3 separate regions of the Homo sapiens genome follow, and regions 1 and 3 are each linked to region 2. Evidence: promoter capture Hi-C in human tissues and cell types (Jung and others, 2019). All regions are on one chromosome and are shown on one strand. Each heading gives the region's core, a stretch centred on a gene start or on the middle of the fragment in contact. The rest is flanking DNA. Distances are from core to core; before and after follow the strand shown.

What was found. Contacts are between HindIII fragments. The study calls those that stand out against the background at their distance.
Region 1: a contact is called between the fragment with the promoter of ZBTB43 here and the fragment with the promoter of LMX1B in region 2, in 1 of the 25 tissues and cell types used here (thymus).
Region 3: a contact is called between a fragment that was not itself captured here and the fragment with the promoter of LMX1B in region 2, in 1 of the 25 tissues and cell types used here (IMR-90 fibroblasts).

What each region holds. Positions count from the first base shown.
Region 1 is chr9:126,803,745-126,808,231 of GRCh38, forward strand. It overlaps ZBTB43 (zinc finger and BTB domain containing 43), which reads left to right and starts at 1,296. Exons shown (of 3, transcript NM_014007.4): 1 at 1,296-1,388. RefSeq lists a silencer at 911-960 and enhancers at 1,022-1,523, 1,591-1,650, 2,061-2,170, 2,321-2,470. The HindIII fragment of the contact is 16,594 bases long and covers 1-4,487 here.
Region 2 is chr9:126,610,505-126,615,177 of GRCh38, forward strand. LMX1B (LIM homeobox transcription factor 1 beta) reads left to right here and starts at 3,424. Exons shown (of 8, transcript NM_001174147.2): 1 at 3,424-4,084. The coding sequence starts at 3,946. LMX1B-DT (LMX1B divergent transcript) reads right to left here and starts at 3,295. Exons shown (of 2, transcript NR_184148.1): 1 at 2,945-3,295. RefSeq lists enhancers at 1-408, 2,352-3,320, 3,576-4,157, 4,158-4,673 and a silencer at 1,130-1,199. The HindIII fragment of the contact is 15,813 bases long and covers 1-4,673 here.
Region 3 is chr9:126,762,312-126,766,985 of GRCh38, forward strand. No RefSeq gene overlaps it. Among named protein-coding and RNA genes, the nearest start is that of ZBTB43, 40 kb to the right of the region's middle. The HindIII fragment of the contact is 5,219 bases long and covers 1-4,674 here.

The DNA of each region.
Region 1 (4,487 bases), core at 46-2,545, 190 kb after region 2:
AAGGCGGGGGAGCTGGAGCATACATGTTTGAAGTAGAATCTTTGACAAGCTGTTCTGCATCCACTCCCATTTCTGTGCTTCCATATTTGTTTTCTTTCATTTTGTTTTCTAGAAAAAAAAATTTTTTTGGTAGAATTCTCTAGGAAAGCTACACTCCTGTGTCCTAGGGCCCAACAACAAGCAAGACAGGCATAACAGCTGGGAAACCAATCAGCTTAAACTGAGACAGACAATATCAAACAGGCATGTCAGGCCCCACGAGAACATCCACCCTAAATCCAGAAGGCATTATGACCACATCGCTTCAGCTGCCTGGATTTCAGGTATAAATTAGTTCTTCTACAAAGAGGGCACTTGGTCTGTAAACGGGTCCAAAGGTAAGAGTCCCACCGCTAAAGACCTATCTCTCTTCTACACTAACATGGGGGGGCAGTGGGGAAGAAAGGGGCGAGAAGAGGTATGGAGGTTTTGGGAGGGAGTGGGAGAATTGGAGGCTAGAGAGATCGTTTCTGTCCCACCATCTGTGTGACCCCAGTGCCCAGCACAATGCAGCCCACGGAAAGGCACTGGTCCTTTCATTGACCATTTACTGAGCATCTACTACATGCCAAAAAGCGAGATGGGTGCTGTGAAGGCAGAAACGGATTTGGAGATAATCTCCGCCAGGCATACTGAGGTCAAGGTTTTCGTTCGTTTGTTTAGAGAAGAGACGGAGAAGGTCAAGGTGTTTTTGTTTGTTTTGTTGTTGTTGTTGTTGTTGTTTAAGAGTCTTGCTCTGTGCTCAGGCTGGAGTGCAGCGGCGTGATCTCGGCTCACTGCAACCTCTGCCTCACGGGTTCAGGCAATTCTCCTGTCTCAGCTTCCCAAGTAGCTGGGATTACAGGCGCGCGCAACCACGCTCAGCTAATTTTTGTATGTTTTGTAGAGACAGGGTTTCACCATGTTGGCCAGGATGGTCTCGAACTCCTAGCCTCAAGCGATCATCCCCTCTCGGCCTCCCAAAGTGCAGGGATTACAGACGTGGGCTACCGCGCCTGGCCTATGCCAAGGTTTCAAGAAGGTTTAGAACTCAGTATCTGCTCCCCTATTTTCAACAGCGTAGTCAGTCCCTAAAATTGACCCGCTCCAGAGTGTACTGCGCAGGCGCCCGCTACCTCCGCGCTCTCTCCCGACGCCCAGCTCAGACGGTAAGTCCCGCATGCGCACTCCGCTTTCTCTCTGACGCACCCCCGGAAGCACTGTCAGTTTCGGGGGGCGGGACCGGGAAGCGTTTCCGGGGGCTGAAGGCACAGGCTGAATCTGTTGCGGCAGCTGAGGCTACAACAGGCCTGCGCCGGCGGCAGAGAGGATATCTTGGGCGGGGGATGTGAGCGCTGAGCCCTTGGCAGGTACTGCGTGGCCAGGACCACGGGCGGCAAGGGTAGGGGAGGAGAAGTCGGTGGGGGAGTTAAGGGCTCCTCAGCAGGCCCCGACGCTCGCGCCGCTGGCCCCGCCAGGCCCATTCCGTGGACCGGCATACCAAAGCCCCGCGCGGGAGGTTGGGGTCCCGGCGCTCCAGCTCCGAATCCCGCAGTCTTCTGCCCACACGGCGCGCAGACCGCGATACCGAGGCCTTTGGGGCAGCTTCTCGCCCAAGGTCACCCTCGCGGCGGCGGAGCTCCGCCGGCCACAGCGCTTAGAGATCCCGCCCCCGTCCGTCCGCTGGCCTTTCGGGGCGTAGGGTGGGCGCGGCTTGACGACCTCGGGTTCGAGCCACCAATGCCTGAGGCCTGACGAGCCGAGCTGGGAGAAAGACTGCGCCTGGACTTAGCTGATCTTCTGTTTAAGTAAAACATTCAGCATCCCCTGTTGCTGTCTCTGTCACCTGTTGTAACCTGCCCTTTTTGTCTTTCAGCTAGGTCGCTGTCAACCTGATATTTCTCTCCACTTTGTCTTTGTCGGGGTATCTGGATCCTGTTTTATATCTGTCTCCACCTTGCTTCTGTGTCTGTTCACCCTGTCTCTGCCACTCAGCCCTTACTCTAATTCAGGGCCTGTCAGTCTGGCTTTTTGGCCATCTGTCTGTTTCTCTCTTTCTGCCAACTTTGTTTTTGCCTCTTGTCTCTCTTTCCTGAGTTTGGGTGGGGCAGGGCTGCCCAGACCTCTGAGCCATGGAAGGTGACTCATGACCCCGTGAAGTTCCCTGCACTGGTGACACTCTCAGTGACTCGACCGCAGTTTGGCCTCAACTCTGACAGGTGTCGCCCAACATAAGTGTCAGAGTGCAGGAGAGCCTGTCAGGGAGACAGGAGGCCCATTTTAGGGCCAGAGCAGCTTGATGAGTCCTCTCCTTTTCTCGCCTGTGGTTTCTCAGGCCTGCACAGCTTCCCAAATGCCTTCGCTCTATCCACTCACCACAGGATGGTCTCCAGGGATCTCTGGAGCCTGCTCTTTGAGTTACAGCTGTTTAACAGGCCTGTCTACAGGCTAAGAAAGGATCAGACTGAGGTCTTTGGGGCTACTGGAACAGTAGCAGGGTTTCTGGGATAACTGCATGCTTAGTTCAGAGATTGTGTCAGCATTTTCAGTTAAATTATAAGAAACCTAATAATTGGGAATTTATTATTTGCTTTATAAAAGCACCACGGGAGAAATAAACCACACACAAAAGGACAAATGTTGTTTGAGAGCACTTAAATGAAGTACCTAGAATAAACCAATTAAGAGACGGAAAGTAGAATAGTTTACCAGGGGCTGGGGAGAGGAGTTATTGCTTAATGTTACAGAACAGAGTTTTGGGGGATGATGAATAAGGTCTGGAAATGGGTTGTGATGATTGCACAACATTGTGAATGTACTTCACTGAATTGGACTCTTAAAATTACTTAAAATTGTTAAGTCTTAAAGTTTTATGTATATTTTATACAATACAAAAAACAAAAACAGTATTCATTGGAGACTCCTGAAACCAATAAGCTCCTTTTACATGTAATTTTTCAAAATTCATTCTGTAGTTGTTAGGAACACAGTTGAACCTGTGTTTATTGATTCCTACTCTCTTTACAGCAGTGGGTACAGCTGAGGTTCTTAGAAAAGTTTAGTTAAATGAATTTGGTTAAAATCTTTCTCAGGCTTTCTACTTACTTTCTGCCCTGGCTCTCCTCCCTCTGCCTTTCTTGGAATCAGTGCAAGAATGTGCTCATAAGTAGGATACTTGATAATTATGCTTTTCACAGGAAGAAAACTCATAAGGTTGAAAAATAGCCCTTTTATTATAATGCAAAATTATGTGTTATTTCTTGAGTTTCGTTATGGGGGATGCCTTTGTGGTTTTTTTGTTTTTTAAAATCTCTTATTTAAGCTGTCTATTTGCCTTTAAGGTAGTTTATCAAGCTTTCTAATAAGATATCACAACTGAATTACTACTTTATTTAATTGAATCCTAGATGCTGTTATTTCATGTACCACCAAGGAAGGGAGAAACCCTGCTAATTGAACTATGGCTTAATACGCTCTTATCGTTTAGACTTTTTATTATTGAAAACACTTTTAGACTTAGACACTAAAACATGGTATCAATGCCTATTCTAATGCATATATACAAAGGAAAAATAAGAACACATTGGTTAAAGTGTTCGTTAAACTTAACATTCCAAGTTCTACTCTTCTGTGCACTTTTCAATTCAGAGTGTGTCCATATTTTTTCTAGAGTGTCATCCTTTGTGTCATCAAGAACATTGATGAGGACCTCAGCAGTTCTCTATCATTGTCTCAGGCAGTGACAGCTATTAAAACTGCCACCTGGTGATCACATTCTGATTTCAGGAATTTTAAAATGTGAAAAAATGCATGTCTGAAAATTAATTGAAGAGTATCATTTTCATGAACTTTTTTTTTCTTGTTTTTGTTTTTGTTTTGTTTTGTTTTTTTGAGATGGAGTCTCGCCCTGTCGCCCAGGCTAGAGTGCAGTGGTGCAATCCCGGCTCACTGCAACCTCCGCCTCCTGGGTTCAAGCGATTCTCCTGCTTCAACCTCCCGAGTAGCTGGGATTACAGGCGCCTGCCACCACACACAGCTAATTTTTGTATTTTTAGTAGAGACAGAGTTTCACCATGTTGGCCAGACTGGTCTCAAACTCCTGACTTCAAATGATCCACCTGCCTTGGCCTCCCAAAGTGCTGGGATTAACAAGTGTGAGCCACTGCGCTGGGCCTGAACTTTTCCTTTTCAACTCTATTTATATTTGCAGTTAGAATAGGGGCTTTTGTCTTATTTGTAACATATTGAGGAAAAAATATTTTTTAAAATTTGTCGATATGTTGTTAATTTCTTGAAATGAGTACTGTTTCTGCCTTCTGCTTTCTTGATTTCAGCTTCTTATCCTGAATTCTAATGCACGTGAGGGTACAGTTAAAAACATTTCCTTGGCTTTATTGAAATTCAATGGAAGGATGATCGATAAATGGGGGGTTAGTTTCTAGAACGTTACCTTCTCTTTTGAATCTCAG
Region 2 (4,673 bases), core at 2,174-4,673:
TAAGAAGAGGAGCGGGGGGACTAGGGCGGGGCTCAATGGAGCTGGGGCGTCCGCAGACTGGAAGGAGCCGGGACCCCCGCTCCAGAGCCTCCCTTTCCATTCTCGCTTCTTCCAGTGATTCCGAGCCCCCGACTCAGTCTTTCCCCCAGGTAGAGAGAATCCGAGGCTGTTTCTGCCGCTGAAATCTGAGCGGGAGAGCATCCCGAAGCCGCCTGCGTGGAGCGAGCAGCCCCCGCGTCATGGGCCAGAGGCGCCCGGGAGAATCTGCGGGTCACGGATCACACCCGCAGGGGCCTGGCGGAGCAAGGTGCCGTTCGCCGCCTGCGGGCAGGAGCCGGCTCTGGGCCTCGGCCCCTGCTGTGCCGTCCAGTCGGCCGCTTCTTCGCTTCTTCGGCAAGGGAAGCGGTGGAGAGGCGCGGGAGCCCCGATTGTGCTGGAGAGATCTGGGACCCCTGCGCGTCTGCGTGCGAAGGACCCGAGACCGGCCAACTCAGCTGGGAGCACGGGACACGAGGAGTGAGGACAAAGGGCAAGGAACGGGGCCTATAGGGAGGGTGTGTGTGTGTGTGTGTGTGTGTGTGTGTGTGTGTGTGTGTGTGTGTGTGTGTGTGTGTGTAGGGGGAATGAATGGACAGCGGGGAAGGCATGCAGAGGGGCCCAAGGGGTGTGGACTCAGCAGCCCCACCCCAGACCAGAGAAGGCAGCCAGGCTCTGGCGTCCACCGAGCCAGCGCCCCTATCTGGGCGCGGGCCGCATGGCGGCAGACCACCCTATATCCGCCTTGGTGGCGTGGGATATGACTGGCAGGAGCGCGGAAGAGGCGCTGAGAATGCATGCGCACCCGGACAGACCAGACGCGGCACGGAGGGGGTACTTCCCACAAGTCCTCCTGCCTTGAGACCAGGCCTTCGAGTGGTCCGGGGAATGCGCCTCTGGGCACAGCCAGCGGCCCCAGATCGGCACTGGACGCCAACCCGAGTTAGAGAAGCCTGGGAGACTGGATCGCAGGGGCCCTCATTCAGCCAAGGAGGGGGAAAGGAGAGCTGTAGGGTAGGAGAGGCCAGGCACAGGGAAGGTGGGGAGGGGATGGAGCCTTGCGCCAGGAGTTGGGGGTGCAGGGCCTGTGACGAGAGAGTATTACCATGTGCACCCTGAAGGAGAGGGAGAGGGTCTGGGCCTGGAACGAGGACTCTCGCCTGCAGGCAGTCGCCCAGCCCCGGTTGCAGGGATGGACCGCGACCAGCAGAGGGCAGAAAGTGCCTGGTCCGCCCGCCGGCCCCGAGCCGCGCTCCGCGCCTCGGGACTCTGGCTCTGTGCGCCGAAGCCTTGCCCGCCCGGCTTCTCCCTGCAGCAGCCGCGCCCCCGCCCCAGATGCCCGGAGAAGGCGGCTCAGGCCCAGCCCAACTTCGCGGGTCCAGGCCTGGGGTTTCCAGGTCAAGCAAAGAGGGGACCGAGATGTGGGAGAGAAACTCCACATTGACTGTCCACTCTCCCCGACCTAGCCACACAAAGGCGCCTAGAAATACACGAAGGCACAAAGCCCCCCACCACACACAAACACACACACACACACACACGCTAGGAGACACGCGAGCACACAGAAGCATTCAGAACCCCGGAGATAAGCACAGATACGCAAAGCTGACAGAGACACCCATACAGAAAAGGATCGCAGACACAACACAGAGGCTGAGACACGCACAAAGACTTAGGCCCCCGCATGAAATGATGCGGACACACACCCCAGACACAGGCACGAAGGACCCACACATTCACATACACACGGGTGCAGGGGACTCAGACACAGATCCACAGATTCACCCCTGGGAGTCTGGAAGGTTGCAGGGACACACATACCGTGTGTGCAGAGCCAAGGAGCACACGGAGGCAAGAGCCGCAGAGGCGGGGGCCCGACACGCACAGACACACACAGATACCCACCGACACACACGCAGGTAGGGTAGGGCGGGAGCCTCTAATCCTCCACAAAGCCGGGCCCCTCCGCGGGGCCCCGCGGCGCAGGGGGCCACTTCTGACCAAGCCTCCCGCAGGTTCCAAATCCGATCCGCCCTTTCGCCTCCAGCGAGGTCAGGGGACCCGCCCCCCATGCCCTCCGCCCCCGCCCGGCTCCGCGCCGCTGCCTCGCTCCGGGAGGGGCCGGGGCCGCCCCGCAGCGGATCGCGGGGGGTCAGCCCGCCGCTACCCCGGGCCGCAACCGCCCCCCTGCTCCCCGGTGAGCCGCGCGTCGGTGGGGACCACGGGCCGCAGACAGCCGGTCCGACGCTGTGGCCTCTCGCACCGGACGCGGGTGCCAGGCCCGGCTGGCGCGGAAGTCGGCAGCTCCATCTCGCCAGCTTTCGCGTCCCGTTGCCGAGGTCCACTTTGCCCAGGCTGGCTAGAGCACTGTCCTTGATCCGCGCGTCCCAGCGACCCCTGGCCGGGCACCCGACCCGCCAAAGGACCCCGATCTTGGCAGCCAACCTAATTTCTTCAGAGCCGCTACCCTGGGGCCACCACTCCCTCCTAGCGCCCCTCACTGCAAACCCTAGGAGGCCCGGGTCTTGCCCACTGCTCCTGCCCCTGCCCGGGGACCCCTTTTCCAGCCTTAGTTGTCCTCTAAACTCTCGGTCGCCTGAACCCAGGCCTGACCTTCCTTGTCGTCCCAGTGTCCCCCATTCTCGATCCCGGGGCCCCAACCTCCCATCGGCTCAGTCCCCCGCCCAATCTCTGCCAGGCCCGGAGCTTTCCCAGACCCCTCACCCACACTCCAGGCTCACTCCCCGTTCCTGGGCCTGGGCCCCCCTTGCACGAGTCCAGGGCCAGCCGTCCTCGCCTTCTGCCCGCCCCCGTCCTTCGTTCCTGGGAGCCGGCCCTCTCCGCGGACCAAGCGGCCCCGAGCAGGCGCCGCCGCCCGGGGGACTCCGACTCAGCCCCCGCGACCTACCTCGGCCGACAGTCGGGGGTTCCCAAGCGGCCACTCCCGGCCGGCGCCGTCCCCTGGCGGAGCCGCCGCGCTCCCTGCCGTCCGCGCAGTCTGGCCTCGCTCGGGGCCACTCCTCGTAGCGCTGGAGCTTTACAAAATATTAATAATAAAGAAGGCAGAGGAGAAAAAAGAAAGCCTTCGCTCCCCAACTCCCAAATCAATTTTTCAAGGGGGTGGAGCAGAGGGATTTGTTTCGAAGACGATCAAAACTTCTGCGAGGGGCCCGCGGGGCGGCCGGGCCGGGGAGCCGGGGCCTGAGCTCGGGGCCAGGCGCGGCGCGGGGCGCGGGCCAGGGGCGCGGAGCCCCGGGGCGCGCGGGGGGGCGGGACGGCACTATTTGACGTGGAGCCGGCGGCGCATCCCGGCGCAGGGATACCGGCCGCGGGGTTCAAATGTCAGGAAGTTTCGGGAGGTGAGGCGGCCCGTATCCCTCCGCCGCCAGCCCCAGCTCTAAACCCGGCGGCTCAGCGGGCGCACCATGGCACTGGAGTAGCGCGGGGAGCGCGCCCGGAGCCCCGCGGCCCGCTGCGCCCCGCCCGGGACCCCGCTGCGCCGCGCGCCCCCCCCGCGGCCCGCGGGGCCGCCCCTGCACCCCCACCCCCTCCCCCGCCTGCCGCCGCCGCCACCGCCACCGCCGCCGCCGCCTCCTCCCCGCGGCTCCGTCTGCAGCAGCCGCCGCCGCCGGGTTCCGGGACTGACAAGCAGGTGACAGAGGAGCCGGCGCGCGTGGCTGCAAGTGTCCGGGAGAGCGCGGCGCGGGCTGCAGCCGCCCCGGCCCGCCCGCACGACGCCGGGGCCCGGGGCCAGCGCGTCGCCGCTCCACGATCGCCGGGGGCCGGCGCAACCCCTGCCCTGCGGGGGCCGCGCCTCCCCGGTTCCAGGGCCGCGGCGGCGGAGAGCGGGTGGACGGGCCGGCGGGCGAGCAGCCCGGCCGGCGGGGTCCGCAGCGCGCCCCGCGTCCCATGGATATAGCAACAGGTCCCGAGTCGCTGGAGAGGTGCTTCCCTCGCGGGCAGACGGACTGCGCCAAGATGTTGGACGGCATCAAGATGGAGGAGCACGCCCTGCGCCCCGGGCCCGCCACTCTGGGGGTGCTGCTGGGTGAGTGCGGGGTCGGAACGCCCGAGTGGTCTCGGGCGTGGGATGGGGCGTCGTCCGGCTGTGGACACGGGCGTTGGGGCCAACGGATAAAGGAAATGGGTTTGCAGGACATGGGGAGGAGGCAGAGACAGGACTCCTGGAGTGATCGCCAGAGGGCCGCAAGTACGCCTCCGGCAGGCGTCCTGAGGGGACAGGACAGCTCCAGTCGCCACCCACCATCCTTTCCAGGCTTAGGTTCTAGAGCTGCCACTCCGATGTGGTAGGTGGCGGGTGGCAGGGGTGATGGAGGACCTAGCAATCACCTTGGCGAGCTTGGGAGAGGCGCAAGGTCACCTGGGGTGGGGGAGATTCTAAGAGAAAAACGTCTCCCTGGTCACTCAAACCACAGATTTTGGGGAGATCGGGGATAGAAGACCACGAACGCCACCGTGGGGCGTGTCAGCCAGCGAGCGCCCCAGCCTCACCTCGCCTGTCTTGGTCCCAGCCGGCCACCCTGCGCCGTGCTCGTTGTCATTTGTCTTAACACGGAGCGCGGATTCTCCGGAGAAGGGGAGAGCACAGCGCCGAGCCAAGGCTCGAGGCCCGCGGC
Region 3 (4,674 bases), core at 986-3,485, 150 kb after region 2:
TTTATTCTAATGGCTGACAATGTGGTTGTGGAATTTTATGCAATCTTTCAAAAAAGATTCTTGAAATATAAGAGGCATAGAGTAAACAACTAATAATAATGTGTAATTTACCTTATTGTTAATTTAATAATGCTTTTTAAGTGTAGATGATAACGAAAGAGGTATTAAGACATTGTAAAGGACAACTTTTTTTTTTTTTTTTTTTTGAGCCGGAGTCTCTCTCTATCACCCAGGCTGGAGTGCAGTGGCGAAATCTTGGCTCACTGCAAACTCTGCCACCCAAATTCAAGCAATTCTTCGGCCTCAGCCTTCTGAGTAGCTGGGATTACAGGTACGTGCCACCACACCCGGCTAACTTTTGTATTTTCGGTAGAGATGGGGTATGGCCATGTTGGCTAGGCTGGTCTCGAACTCCTGACCTCAGGTGATCCACCCGCCTCAGCCTCCCAAAGAGCTGGGATTACAGGCGTGAGCCACCACGCCCGGCCTGTAAAGGACAACTCTTAGCTGAAGAGCAAGAGAGAGGTTATAGGCACCACTTAACTTTTGACATTGATAGAACCATAATTTTAAATATGTTAAAATTTTATATCAATAAAACTAGTAGAAAAGCATATATAGTTACCCAAAAAGGGGGAAAGAAAAAGAAGAAAGATCAACGCCCTACAGTACAAGCCAATAAGGAAAAAAAAAAAAAAAGCAAACCACACAACAGTGTAAGAAACAGAAACGTAACCCAGGGGGTGAAAAACAAGATCATACTGTTGCATCCAGAGGGAAAACTCAATTATTAACTGAAAAAAAAATTTTAATGTTAAATTCTATTAAAAAACAAAGATTCTCAGATTAAATAAAACAGAAAAACTACTTCCAGTTATTTCCTGATGAGTAACAAACCACTCCAAAACTTAAAACAACAATGAACTGTTATTTCTCATGATTTTGTAGCTCTGGGATGCCAGCATGGCTTGGCGGGCGTCTTTTGTTCCACAGGGCATGGGCTGGGCTCACTCATTTAAGCTCCATCCTGCGGGCGGCTGGGCTGAGCAGTCCAAGATTTTACTCACATGGTGCCTCCGTGCTCCTGCACTGTGGCCTCTCTTTCTCCAAGCCTGCCTCACAGTTTAATATTCCAGCCTGAGCTTCCTTAAAGTATGCCTGCTGGTTTCCCCAACACAACCTGAAGTCACCTGACTGCTTAAAGGCTAGGTCCAGAACTGACATCATATCACTTCCTCTGCTTGCTATTGGTCAAGGCAAGACACAAGGCCACCCGTATTGGAGGAGAGGAGAAACAGACCCCACCTCCTAGTGGGCAGAGCCATCAGGCACGAGATAGGCACAGGAAGGATTTATGGTGGCCATCTTTTGGAGACTGCCTACCTTAATTATGCTTTACAAGGGATTCCCTCCAAAGTTAAATAATTCTGAAAAATCTAAAATAAATATATTCCAGGGAAATCCAAATAGAAGAAAGAGAGTGTGGCAGTGTTCATATTTTCAAAAGTGTAATTCAAGGGAGGGAAAGCGTTAAATGGAACTGAGGGATTTTTTTTTTTCTTTTTTTTTGAGACAGACTCTTGCTCTGTCGCACAGGCTGGAGTGCAGTGGCACGAACTTGGCTCACTGCAGCCTCTGCCTCCTGGGTTCAAGCAATTCTCCTGCCTCAGCCTACTGAGTAGCTGGGATTACGGGCGCACACCACCACGCCTGGCTAATTTTTATATTTTAGTAGAGATGGGGACCTCACCATATTGGCCAGGCTGGTCTCGAACTCCTGACCTCAGGTGAGCCACCCCCCCTCAGCCTCCCAAAGTGCTGGGATTACAGCCGTGAACCACCATGCCTGGCTGGGATTTTTTAAATAATTGTATTGATAAAATACCCAATCATCAAGAAAAAATAATAGACATTTGTCGAACACTTACATGAATAATTTCATTTAATCTCATAACAATTATGTGAGGTAAATGTTATCTTTTTTGCCCCATTTAACAGATGAGGAAACTAAAGCTTAGAAAGATTAAGTAATTACTCCACCCCTACGTATTTTGTAAGGGGAAGAACCAAGATTTGAACCCATGTACCCTAACACCAGAGTTCGTGCTTTTGTTTATTGTTTTTGAGACAGGGTCTAACTCTGATTCCCAGGCTGAAGTGCAGTGGCATGAACATGTCTCACTGCAGCCTCGACCTCCTGGGCTCAAGTATCCTCCTACCTCAGCTTCCTGAGTAGCTGGGACTACAAATGCAAGCCACCGCTCCTGACTAATTTTTTTTTTTTTTTTTGTAGAGACAGGGTCTCAAACTCCTGGGCTTAAGCGATCCTCCTGCCTCCTCCTCCCAAAGCATTGGGATTACAGGCATGAGCCACCTCGCAGGGCCCAGAGTTTGTGCTCAATCACTGAGTGGCTGAGTAATCATGAATCTGAATCAGACAGATACATGGGCAGAAATACTGAAAAGAATATATAAAGCAAAAAGCAAAAATTGAGGCTGGGCGTGGTGGCTCACGCCTGTAATCCCAGCACTTTGGGAGGCCGAGGTGGCCAGATCACCCGAGATCGGGAGTTTGAGACCAGCCTGACCAACATGGAGAAATCTCGTCCCTACTAAAAATACAAAATTAGACAGGCGTGGTGGTGCATGCCTGTAATCCCAGCTACTGGGGAGGCTGAGGCAGGAGAATCGCTTGAACCCAGGAAGCGGAGGTTGCGGTGGGCCGAGATTGTGCCATTGCACTCCAGCCTGGGCAACAAGAGCAAAACTCCATCTCAAAAAAAAGCAAAAATTGAAAAACTAGGAGAATTTTACAAAAGCATGCAGAGTGGGAGATTTTAAAACACCTGACTCAAAATTTAACAGGTCAGATATTTTTAAAATCATGAAGACAATCTAAATAACAAAATTAACAAGACTGTTTTAATATATCTAGGTAGAATTTGAACAGGGAATTCCTTTTTTACCAATGCTTACAGAACATAAAAACAAATTGATTAAGTAATGAGTTTCAAAGTAAACCTTGATAAATTCCAAACAGTAGAAACTACACAGGCAATTTCAACAAATCAATAATAAAAAGACAAATGACCAAATAGAAAAATGGGCAAAGGATTGAAAGGGACTTTTTTACAAATGAGGATATATATAAATGGCCGAAAATATATAAAAAGATGCTCCAACTTCACTAGTAAACATAGAACATGAAATCAAATCAACAAATACTATTTCTCTTCACCCAAAAGATTGGGGAAAAAATAGAAAGTTGGATATCAGTTGTTGGTAAGAAAATAAAGAGAAGATTTTTTAGAGTTCTAGTGTAATGTAAATTGACATGCCGTTTTAAAGAACAATTTAGGGCCAGGCGTAGTGGTCACGCCTGCAATGCCAGCACTTTGGAAGGCCTAGGTGGGCAGATTATCTGAGGTCAGGAGTTCGAGACCAGCCTGACCAACATGGTGAAACCCCATCTCTACTAAAAATACAAAAAATTAGCTGGGCCTGGTGGCAGGTGCCTGTAGTCCCAGCTACTGGGAGGCTGAGGCACGAGAATCGCTTGAACCTGGGAGGCAGAGGTTTCAGTGAGCCAAGATCGCACCACAGCACTCCAGCCTGGGCGACAGAGTGAGACTCCATCTCAAACAAACAAACAAAAATAGGCCAGGCACGGTGGCTCACACCTGCAATCCCAGTACTTTGGGAGGCCAAGGCAGGGGGGTCACCTGAAGTCAGGAGTTCGAGACCAGCTTGACCAACATGGTGAAACCCCGTCTCTACTAAAAATACAAAAATTAGCCTGGCGTGGTGTCGTGCTCCTGTAATCCCAGCTACTCGGGAGGCTGAGGCAGGAGAATCGCTTGAACCCAGGAGGCAGAGGTTGCAGTGAGCTGAGATCGTGCCACTGCACTCCAGCCTGTGTGACGGAGCGAGACTCCGTCTCAAAAATACATAAATAATACATAAATACATAAATAAAATAAAGAACAATTTAGAAGTACGCATTAATAGCTTAAGCATATGTAACTATGTCACACACCGATTCAATTTGTAAATTCTACACCAGAGTTCTGATGCTGGCCAAGGCAATGTGTGCCACCACAACCTCTCTGTCCCACTGACTGCCAACTAAAAGATCTGGACAAAATACAAAAAGCACTGCCTGAGGATTCAGGAAATAACAAGTAGATTGGCAAGAGGGGCAAAAACTTGAAGAAAGACCCTAATGGGGTGAGTTTCCAGGGTTGTGTTCCTCTTTTATCACCCAGCTTTGACCCGAGGGTGGCCCAGATCTGGAACTGTGTAGCAGGTGCAGGCAACAAAATCTCCAAGAGAAACCCATCTTCCTGAACGGATAATTGGAAAAGGGGCCTCTTGTGAGTTACAGAGTGTAGGGTATCTTTTCTTCTCTTTTCTCTCTTTCGACCTGTCCTAAGGGTGAGCCAGTCAGAAAGCTACACTATGGTGGCAGGGGTGGTGGCACAGACACCCAAAACCCCCAAAGAAAACCCATCTTTCTTGCCGGATGAACCAGGAATAGGGGGTGTGAGGGGGGAATCCCCCTTGCTTTTTCTCTTTCTTTTCTCTCTTTGCATTACCCTGAGGGCGGCCAAAGCCATGTGGAGCTATACAGTAGATTATCTAGAGTTTTAGCCACCTGTGCTATTGCAGAAGCCA